Linked DNA regions of Homo sapiens: regions 1 and 2 are each linked to region 3. Evidence: promoter capture Hi-C in 16 types of primary human blood cells and fetal thymus (Javierre and others, 2016). All regions are on one chromosome and are shown on one strand. The core of a region is centred on a gene start or on the middle of the fragment in contact, and the rest is flanking DNA. Distances in the headings are between cores, read along the strand shown. Region 1 overlaps IGF2R (insulin like growth factor 2 receptor). Region 2 holds the start of WTAP (WT1 associated protein). Region 3 holds the start of DYNLT1 (dynein light chain Tctex-type 1).

Evidence for each region. Contacts are between HindIII fragments. The CHiCAGO score rates a contact against its expected background, and 5 or more counts as called.
Region 1: a fragment that was not itself captured here is called in contact with the fragment with the promoter of DYNLT1 in region 3 in 1 of 17 cell types (neutrophils); the score reaches 5.4 in neutrophils.
Region 2: the fragment with the promoter of WTAP here is called in contact with the fragment with the promoter of DYNLT1 in region 3 in 2 of 17 cell types (neutrophils and monocytes); the score reaches 9.0 in neutrophils.

What each region holds. Positions count from the first base shown.
Region 1 is chr6:159,983,201-159,986,924 of GRCh38, forward strand. All of the region lies in intron 1 of IGF2R (insulin like growth factor 2 receptor), which reads left to right. Among named protein-coding and RNA genes, the nearest start is that of IGF2R, 16 kb to the left of the region's middle. RefSeq lists an enhancer at 1-118 and silencers at 1-291, 1,297-1,591. The HindIII fragment of the contact is 2,660 bases long and covers 807-3,466 here.
Region 2 is chr6:159,726,135-159,729,588 of GRCh38, forward strand. It overlaps WTAP (WT1 associated protein), which reads left to right and starts at 1,372. Exons shown (of 8, transcript NM_001270531.2): 1 at 1,372-1,569. It also overlaps a transcript of SOD2 not described here. RefSeq lists enhancers at 583-1,180, 661-750, 1,101-1,230, 1,181-1,778 and a silencer at 1,241-1,790. The HindIII fragment of the contact is 6,285 bases long and covers 1-3,238 here.
Region 3 is chr6:158,642,776-158,646,163 of GRCh38, forward strand. DYNLT1 (dynein light chain Tctex-type 1) reads right to left here and starts at 1,968. Exons shown (of 5, transcript NM_006519.4): 1 at 1,907-1,968. The coding sequence starts at 1,933. It also overlaps a transcript of SYTL3 not described here. RefSeq lists an enhancer at 1,339-2,282 and silencers at 1,406-1,735, 1,896-2,125. The HindIII fragment of the contact is 7,871 bases long and covers 1-3,388 here.

The DNA of each region.
Region 1 (3,724 bases), core at 887-3,386, 1.3 Mb after region 3:
CCTCGATTGGTTTCGTCTGGACCAGGGTGGGTTTCGATTGCGGCCCTTGCTGGAACAGTAGCAGGAAAGTAGAAACACCTTCCTGTCTCTGGGTTAACCAGCTGACAGTCTGTTACTTGTGTGCTTCCTTCTAATTGGTAATCTGCCAACACCTTTCAGGATATTATGAAATTTCAAGCAAATGAGGTTAAAATGGAACCTCTGTACTTCTGAACAGGCGTGGACTGACTGCAGTTCTCCAGGATAGTTTCAGCAGAAGCAGTGAGATTACAGTCAGGAGCAAAACAGTATCTGAGCTTTCTTTATGGGAAAGATTCCGACTGTGTGCTTGGTTTATATGGTTAAATTAATTGCCCTTGTTAAATTAAAAAAATAGGGTATGTTTCTGCCACAGACTTTGCTTTAAAAGCAGAGATCTTCTAAAGTCATTTGCCTTGTATTTGACTTCTGCTGCTCCCCGTTTCCTGCTGGGCCTGATGGTTTGATTGTAGAATGTTTCTGAGTTGTGTCACTGTTGGACTCTGCTGAGCTGAGTAGTCTCATTAAAGGAGAGTGTGCATCTGAGTTGAGGAAGACAATATAGATGTGGACCTTGTTTGTAGAGTTCACAAGCTGCTTACATAGAAATAGCAAGGACAGTGCAGCCAGTGGGAAGGAGCCGGCTGAGGGACTTGATATTATTTCCATGGAAACCAGTTGGGTATGGGAAGAGAGGTTGTGGAAGGCAATGCTCTGGTGTTTGGCAATTCACACTGTGCAGAAGAGAAAGCAGAACTGGACTGGGAGTATAGAGTAGCAGAAGTTTAAGCTTGGGGAAGAAGTTGAGCAAGGAAAAGCATATGATCTGTTGATCAGCATGATGTGATGTGGTCTGAATCTTCAGACAGTTCACAGCTTTTTCATAGAGGCTGTCCTCAGATGGGTTCAACCATTCTGAGAATTCTGCCTTTACGATATAAGTAGTATCCATGACATTAAAAACGAGAAGAGAAGCGTTTTGGCCAATGACGGACTGCATAAACTACAGTCTGCATAAATGACCTTGGTCCTAGAAGATTAGGATGAAGCTGAACAATTCTTATCACCTAGTGATGCTGTAGCCATTGTAATGTCGTAGCACAATGCATTAGTCACATGTTTGTGGTAATACTGCTGTAAACGAACCCACTGCGCTACCAGTCTTATGAAAGCGTCCAGTCAGGTCCTAGGCCTTTAGGTCCACTCACTCACTGACTCACCCAGAGCCGCTTCCAGTCCTGCAGGCTCCATTCATTATAAGTGCCCTAGGCAAGTGTGCCATTTTAATCCTTTATACCATATCTTTGCTGCACCTTTTCTACGTTTAGATATGTGTCACATGTTACAGTTGCCTGGGGTATTCAGTGCAGCGTCATGCTGTGTGGGTTTGTAGCCTGGGAACAATAGGACATACCATATAGCCTAGGTTTGTAGTAGGCGACACCATCTATGTGTGTGCAGATACACTCGATGATGTTTGAGCAGTGACAGAATTGCCTCATGACACATTTCTGATGACGTATCGCCATTAAGTGAGTGACTATAAACCAGTCCCCCCATCAGCAGTTACACTTCCTGAGGTTTCAGTTACCCATGGTCACTTGCAGTCTGAAAATATGAAGATATTTTGAGAGAGAGATGCCACATTCACATACCTTTTATTACAGTTATAATTGTGCTATTTTATTATTAGTTGTTAATCTTTTACAACTAATTTATAAATTAAACTTAATCATGGGTATGTATGTAAAGGAAAAACCATATCCGAAACCGTATTCCTGGTTCCAGGCCTCTACTGGGGGTCTTGTATCTGTGATTACAAGGTGCTGCGAAGGGATAACTGTAATTTTTCTATATGACTAGCATTTTATTGAATCAAGTTGTGTAGATGGTTGGCAATATAATAGGAACTCAGAGATCTTTATGCCATACAGAGTCTGTCCTTTTAATGGCATTTATTGTGACAAGATTTAAACTAAAGTTTTGTGGAATGTTTTGCCAGTTTTTGTGTTGTAACTGAAACTAAATGTTTTCTGAAAAGTTAAAACCATTTCTTTAAATGGAAAATAAATGAAGCCGTTTACCTAATTGGTTAAGGACTCACCCGTGGGCCTCACACCGCCTAGGTTAATTCTTCACTTTATAATTCCGTGATGTTGGGCAAGTTCCTCATTCTGAGCCTTGGGATATTTGGCTTCAAAGCTGAGGAACTTGGGAGGGTTGGATAATGGCATCACGTTCTGTGGGGAGATTTGGCTCACATGTTAGCTGTGTGGGTGAGAGCCGTGCTGTCATGCGTTCTTAGCCACTGGCCAGTTTCCTTCTCAAGCCATCAGTAGAGATGCTGATCCTGCATCTGCCAGTCATTGCTCCAGGAGGGAAGACATTACTGTCCCAGAGTGACGGTGTCATTGGGGATAACAGACACTTCAGAAAATGCCACCACTGAGCTGTATGAAGTGCCATGGCAGCTAGTGCTGGAGCTGTGGATTCAGCCGGGGAGCACTGTCTGGAGGAGCTGCTGCAGCACATGTGTGTCTCTCCAGCTGTCAGGCTGGCCTTTGGAGTGCATTTGGATTTTTTGAGAATGAGAGAGGGACCATTGGCTAACTGTTTTACGCTCTGAAAAATGACATAGAATAGCAAAGATTTTACTTATTTTTGCTGATTTTCTAGAACATTTTCTGTCCCAGAGTGATGGTTTTGAAGAACCAGCGTTCTTGGAAAGATGGTTTTGCATCCAGAAGAGTGATTTTAACTAAAATCAGGCTGCCTCCCTTGAGGATGGTCACTGAATTTTGTACAACTGGGACAACGGACAGGGATCCTGGGTTGTTTCCAGTGGACAAGCCGCTTCTGTGGGGGCCTTTGCAGTTCTCCCCGCTCCTCTCCTGTGTCCCGCTGGTTTCCTTCAGTTGAGATGGAATACAGCATAGAGTCAGTGACTTTTAGAAGACTTGACAGAGTTTCAGGAAAATGCTCACTGGGCTTTCTTACCTATCCTGCTGCAGAACTTTTTTTTTTTTTTTTTGAGATGGAGTCTCACTCTGTCACCCAGTCTGGAGTGCAGTGGTGCGATCTCGGCTCACTGCAACCTCCACCTCCTGGATTCAAGCTATTCTCGTGCCTCAGCCTCCCGAGTAGTTGGGACTATAAGCGTGCGCGACCATGCCTGGCTAATTTTTGTGTGTGTGTGTGTGTGTGTGTGTGTGTTTTTTTTTTTTTTTTAAGTAGATTCAGGGTTTCACCATGTTGGCCAGGCTGGTCTCGAACTCCTGACCTCAAGTGATCCTCCCACCTTGGCCTCCCAAAGTGCTGTGATTACAGGCATGTGCCACTGCGCATGGCCTGAAGTTCTTTCTTTCAGAAAATGTATTCAACACATTCTTTTGTGTGTGTTTGAGTGAAGACGGTGTTTCCACACAGCTTGCAGATACTTTCTTCCAGAAGCTTGTTTGTTGCTAACATTTAACATCTTACTGTTACAGCTTAGTTTTCTCTTTGATTGAATATATTGATCTCTTTTTTTTTTTTTCTGTTGGCTTTTTTCTTAAGTCTTTACTTGTGTAAGCTCAGATAACTTAGTCTAGAATGTAGGCTTTTTCTGGGAATCTCAGCTGAATGGTTTCATTTGCTTGGCTGTTAAATGAACCATACTGTTTGGAATAGTTTCCTAATTCTGGCTGTACATGTTCACTTCAGGTAG
Region 2 (3,454 bases), core at 122-2,621, 1.1 Mb after region 3:
TTTTGTACTCCGTGGAACTTGAACCATTTTTCCACTCCCACCAGGAAAGGTAATTTCAACGTGTATTTCCATTGTAAGTGAGGTGGAGCGACTTTCTATGTTTAAAGACCATTACGGTATTTTTTCTGAGAATCATCTGTTCATGTCCTTCCCCATTTTCTCCTTTGGCTTTTGCACTTTTTGTTTTCAATTTTTGAGAGCTCTTGTGATACGAGTTGCAAAGATTTTCTCCAGACCGATCTGATTCACTGGAAATATACTACGACCATCTGGAATGTACTTTAATCTTATCCTAATAAATCACCTTACTACAAGACACTCCTTTGGGGATGAACAGGTTTGATAAAGCCGGCTAAGGACAGACCAATCAAAAGAATTACGTGCTCTTCTAGTAAGTGTTTAGAGACTGTTTCACGTTCTCCAGGTAACACCGCCATTACTCGGCGGTCCAGATGGCAGTCTTACTTCAGGGAGTCTACTCCACTTGCAGGACCTCTTTGATTGAGTTCACTAAACCTCACAGGGCCGCCTTCCCCGTGTTCCAGTTAGCAAGGGGCCCTCAACGCCGCGGACACAGCGCAACCTCCGACGCCAGAGAACAATAGCTCCTCGATGCGTCTCCAGAGATGTCAAGGAGGAACGAACCCAGCGGCCAGGAGACTGCGCCTCACGACTGATGAGAGGGAAGGCATCGGTTTCTAAGTTCTCAAAACTTACAGGTGAGCTTCTGCTAAGAGTAAACGCCCGCGGCTCGCCGCCCACGGCCTCTCTCTTGAGGTGGCACCTGGTCCTCCGACACGCGGAAGCATCACGGATGAGCGTCACGAACACAGAGCGGCCAATCACGCGCCGCCTTCGCCCAGATCCCTCCGCACGAGGCAGCCCCGCAGCCGCAGGTGGCCCCGGCGAGTACTTCCACCTTCCCTTCCCGTGATGCCCTGGGGCTGACCTCCGACCTCGCTGGCCCGCCCCTCCCCTCGGCCGCTTCCCTTACTGAGCTTGCTGAGCTCCGGGGCCCGCGGAGCTCGCGCCAGGCTCCTGGGAAAGGACGGGGAGTGTTACCGGGGAGCAGCTGCTCCATTGTGCCTCGAGGCCCCGATCGGGCTAGGCCGACGGCCTCCCTCCCTTCACCTTTCCTCTCCTGGCGGGGTTCGGCGGCGGGCGAGTGACTGCGGCCACGCCTGAAAGGCGACTCTCCTGTGAGTGGGCCAGAAGGCGAACATGGCGGAGCGGGGAGGCTGGCGGGAGGCGGGAGGCGGGAGGCGGGAGGCAGTGGCGCTGGCCTGCGGCGCGTTCGGACCGGCTGTGGGGCGGGGCAGGGCGGAGCGGAGCCGTGCGGCGGGGCGGGGCCGGGCGGCGGGGCCTGGTTTCCTCCCTCAGCGCCATTTTGTGGCAGCGAGACCCACAAATAAAGGGGAGCGCAGGGGTTGCGGCGGGACTAGGAGCGCGGCGGGGCCGGCGGCAGAGCTGTCCGGCTGCGCGGTGGCCCGGGGGGCCCGGGCGGCAGGGCAAGCAGCGCGGCCTCGGCCTATGCGACCGGTGGCGCCGGCGCGGCTTCTGCCTGGAGAGGTAGGCGCGGGCCGGCTGGCGGGAGCGGACGCGGGGGACCTCCGGGGCCTGAGGGCTGATGCGCAGCCGCCCCCGGCGGGTAAGGGGCGGGCAGGGCCCGAAAGGCCACACGGGCCTGGTGCGGCACCGGTCTCTCGTGAGCCGCTCTACCTTCCCGCCTGCGGGGAACACTTCCGCCGCTTCGAGGCCATTTTATCTCTGTCCTCCGTCCCCAAGGCCCGGGTTGAGAGGGGTGCTCTGGCGGCCGGAGAGACCGGCCACTCACGGAGGCCGGAGGATGCCCTCCCCGGGCTGAGCGGCGGCGCTCGTTTTTTCCTCGCCTCGGGGTCGCCCCCTTCACCTCCCTTGGGCCTCTCCTGAGGACCTGGCGGCACTAACGAGTTCAGCAAGGAAAAAAAGAAACATTCGTTCCCTACATTTCATGTCACGCAGTAGGATGTTACTACGTTCTCTTGTAGACTTCCATTTTTAAATGAGTATAAGCATTCTGAGGAAAGAAACTGAATTATTGCAGATTTTTGTGAAATCCAAGTCTTACCTTGGATCCCTGTGAGACAGTTACTAGATTTTTTTTTCACCGTTTTTCATAAGTCTGTGTACACGTAATGGAAAAGCCCGAGTTCTTGTTTTGATAAGAAAGTCACTTGGTTGTTTGATCCCAAAGGATTAGCTTAACATTATCAAGGACTAGCATAACTGTGATTATGTAAAAAAAACAAAACAAAACAAAAAAACTATTATTTAGTCTGGTAGGGAAATACTTCTATGAGTATGTTACAATTGGAAGTTGTATTTGTGCCTATTTTATCTAGTTTTAGTTAATTCCATTGCTTCGGAAGATAAGTGGACGTCATAGATCCATCGCAAGTTCTCGTTTTTTGGATTTTAAAATTTTGACCATTAAGTTTTCTACGATAGATAAACATGTTGTGGACATTTAAAACCGTAATTTAAAACTATGAGCGAAAAATCTTTTCAAGATGGATACATTTTAATTCATTCAAGTAGCATCTGATTAGCCAAGTCGGGGAAAGATTGCAGTCCGCAAAGCTGGCTTGTGATAAGGTTGAGGTTACATTTTAAGGGTTTGGGTAGGTGTGTTTCTTACAGTGCTTTTATATGTTAAGGTATCTTAAGCAGACACATGGTTTAAAAGTTCAGTATTTTTAGTACTTTTTCATTGGCAGAATTTGGACAAGCTACCAGAATTGCTAACTCCTAAAGGATAAAAGTAATAATAATAGTGTGTCCCAGGCACTGCTTATTTTTACATGGCTCTTTTATGTCTAGCTTTTCCAATTCAACGTTGAGTCATGTTTGCTGAAAATATTTTTGTGTATTGTTTGTCAGAAATAAGCTGGTAGAGATGAAACACAATGTGTAAAAAGCCCTGTGATGTGGAGATGAGCATTGTCACAATTTGTACAGTACATTAAAGCGTTCAAGGTCTCTTATGGTCTTGTATGTAGTATTGAATCCCCTTGAATATATTGTTTAGCAGTTTTGATCATTATGTATTTGCTTCTTGCTCCTCAAAATTGTACGTTAGTTAGTAGGTCCTTCAGCAAAAGAAGACTGAAGATAGTATTTTGGTTTTATTCTTGTTTTTAATTTTTTTAGTTGTCTCCAACTTTTCTGCCTCTAAATATTTTGCTTCTTGTAGTTACTAAGCTTAACACAGAAAAACTTTTCAGTATCTCCACAATAGTAAACTTCATTGTGTATTGTGTATAACAAGATGTTCCATCTGACTAAAATATATTGCTGTAAATATTTTCTGCCTTTGAAGATGTAGTTAATAGAATTTAATCTTTTCTAAGTGCACATTGAAGTTGCCTTTTATGTTCATATTATGTTCATATTTTATTTGAAAAATCTATAGCAT
Region 3 (3,388 bases), core at 718-3,217:
TACAGTACGAAAAAGGTTGAGGGACATTTTAAAGAATTTTTAGTGGAAAGCAGAGTTGTATTGAATCCAGTGGATAGTTTTAACGTCTCCAAGAAAGATGAATGGTGAGTTGAGAGAATAGTTACAAAGGCCCAGGCATCTACACGAAGTTAGAAGAGATGCAGAAAAGGCTGCTAAGAGGCTGGTGGGAGGACCAGAACGGGCCATTCAGTAAATACCTAAGACATGCCTACTACAAGACAGCCATGGTCTCCACCTCCCAGGGCCTCCATCCCAGGTAGAACACTCATCACTCTGTCCAGCCCCTTCATTTTACACATATGCGATTGAGATCTCGAATAATGAAGCCACTTAGCCACCTTATTTGTGGGAGTCAGAATCGGACTGCAGTATTAAGCGCTTTCCTTTACAAAGCGATTTCTTTTTTAGAAGTTTTACTCGATATTACTGTAATACAAGACATTTTCCAATATTATATTAGTAACAGTTTAAGGGGAAAGGCTTTTTTCTTTGCCAACTGCTCCTGAACCAGCTCTTCTCGTCATTATTCACTTGGTTGCCATCAGCATTCAAACACTGATTATGCCACTGTCACAGGAAGTGTGTGCTAGTTAGGAAATCAGATCAAAACTGAAACTCTAGAATCAGTCCTTAAGTTTTAGTTTTATTTTCCCTGAAAACATTCCTCCTTAAACGAAATTTTTTTCTTTTTTTTTGGTTTTTGAGACGGAGTTTCGCTCTTGTTGCCCAGGCTGGAGTGCAATGGCGCGATCTTGGCTCACGGCAACCTCTGCCTCCCAGGTTCAAGGGATTCTCCTGCCTCGGCCTCCCGAATAGCTGGGATTACAGGCATGCGCCACCACGCCCGGCTAATTTTGTATTTTTAAAAGAGACGGGGTTTCTCCATGTTGGTCAGGCTGCTCTCGAACTCCTGACCTCAGGTGATCCGCCCGCCTAGGCCTCCCAAAGTGCTGGGATTACAGGCGTGAGCCACTGCGCCCAGCCACTAAATTTCATAAATGGTAAGATATCCAACCTTACCAAATGTATCTATAGTTTATATTTTTGACAGGCTGCATAATAAATCCATAGGGCTCTATCTGAATTTCAACAAGGATTATTCAGTAAGAAGAAAATGAGTGTTGTATCTCAGCTGCGCCCATCAGCTCTATTCCCCGAATGACCGTGAGCTTGAAGGAAAGCCATTTAACGCACACGGTGCCGATGGGTGTCTTCTGCTTGGCGACATCGTGGGCTTTATCCTACTTCCTCAAGGAGGCATAAAAGATGATTTTTTCCCCACAACAATGAGCTTTCTTACAGACATATTAAACGGAAATGAAATGTGCTACTCATTCCCAGCGTTGCAGAACCAGGTGAGGCCCGAGACAAAGGCGCGGGATGGCCGGGACGCCAGCCCGGGGCGGAGGGGCTGGCGGCGGGAGCGTCACCCGCACCTCCGCGGGGAGACGTCCAAGCCTCGGCGCTCCCAGCCCGGCCGCCGCGCCCCGCTCCAGGCTGGGGCTGGGGCTGGGGTCAGCCCCGCAGAGCAAGGGGCGGTGATGTCATCCTCTCGGCGAGCTTGGCTGCGGGCCGGAGGCGAGGCCCTGCGGGAAGGTTTCTCGGCACCGCTCACCGGGGCGCTCTCTCCGAGTCACGCCCGGTGCCTCCCCGCGCGGGAAGAAGCTCAATCCCCTTCCCGCCCCCCGCGCCGGGGAAACGGCGGCAATGTCCGGGCAGAATGGGGCCGGGCGGAGCGCCGGCGACCGGGAAGCTCAGGCCGTGGGCTGCCGAGACTGGCCTAGCTGAAGGAGGTGGGCAGCCAGGCCTTTCCGGGCAGGACCGCGTGTCCTTCCGCGGCCAGGGCTCTAGGCCTCCACCCTTCCGTCGCCGACCCGGCGGTTACCTCCTCCGCAGCCTGGTAGTCTTCCATCTTTCCTCCGGCGCGTCCCCTCCGGCTCCCTGAGTGGCGCGGACTGCGCAGGCGCACTCAGGCCCCGCCCCGGACCTGCCACGCCCCTCTCCTCTCGCGCCTGCCTCGCCCATGCCCAGCTCCCGGGCCCCGCCCTTCGCTGCCCGGACCCTCAGTGACCCCATCCCTGGGCGGGGCCCGTGGGTGGACCCTGAATTCGCCTCTCCTCCTGTCCTCTGGGAGGTGGTAGTTTCCATGGGAATCCGTGAGGGTAGCCGGGCAGCTCCCTAAACCTTAGCAACAGAAACAAAACACACGTACAAAAGGCAGTCCTGGAGGGGAAGCGTGGTCCCGGCCCCTCCTCCGGTTTGTACTGTGTGGATTGACGCGGACGTTCAAACCCGCTCGGACACCTGGCAACAAACTCGAAAGTGACTGCTGAAGGCAGTGCGCCCGGTGAGACGTTGTTGCAGTTCCCTTGGGGACTGGGATTGGCATGCTTTAGCTATCTGAACGAAACTTCCCTTTGGGGAGTTAAGTTTTCCAGGTAAATGAGAATTTTTCCTTTAAGCACCATTAAAAAAAAACATTTTGGGTGGAAAATTTTGTAAAATGTGGCACACTTCCTGACTACCTTAACCATAGTGAACTAGACAGACTTTATTTGTATGTGGGTTCTTTATGGAAATTAGGAATTGCACTGGGCTCTGGTAAACTGCCCTCCACGGAAAGCTGGGGCATATGCATCTATTGGCAGGTATTCTGAGGCTCCGAGTTTTGATTTTGGCGTTTGCTTTTTCTGGTTTCGTCATGCACTTGAATTCAGGTTGCTGGAACCCACTTCCCATTCCCCAAGAAAGAGCTGACTGCAAGGGTCCCAGGGATTTGGTAGACCTAAACTTCAAATCCCACATCTAATCCATCAACAACCCTTGTTATTTCTACCCCATATGCTCGGGACCCCAGTTAAAGATTGATATCTCTCATCTGGATTATGACCATCGGACTGTAACCTGGTCGGTCTATCAGGGTCTTATTAGAGCCCTTCAAGAGGAACCTAACCCAACGACTCCTCCCTCCCCTCACCCATTCTGCCCTGCCATAAGTCAATAGTTACTAAGTTGTCAGACTATAGACTAATCTTAGTGATCTTTGGATGACTAAACTTTTAACATATCTTAGCTCAAAATCTCCTACAGAGAGCCATTCTGTGACCACGGCATCTAAGGTAGCCGACCTCCTCATCCTCCACCCCTGCATCCTGTACATTTTCCTCATAGCACTTCTCTCAGTTTGCAAGAACGTATTTATGGTTGCTTGTTGATGGTGTGTCTCCATTTAGAAACTAAGTACCATGCAGGAAGGATCTGTTTTATTCACTAATGTATCCCCTTCCTTCCACATTGTGCCTGGCACATAATAGCTACACAATTAACATTTATTTATTTATTTATTTAGAGACAGGGTGTCATTCTG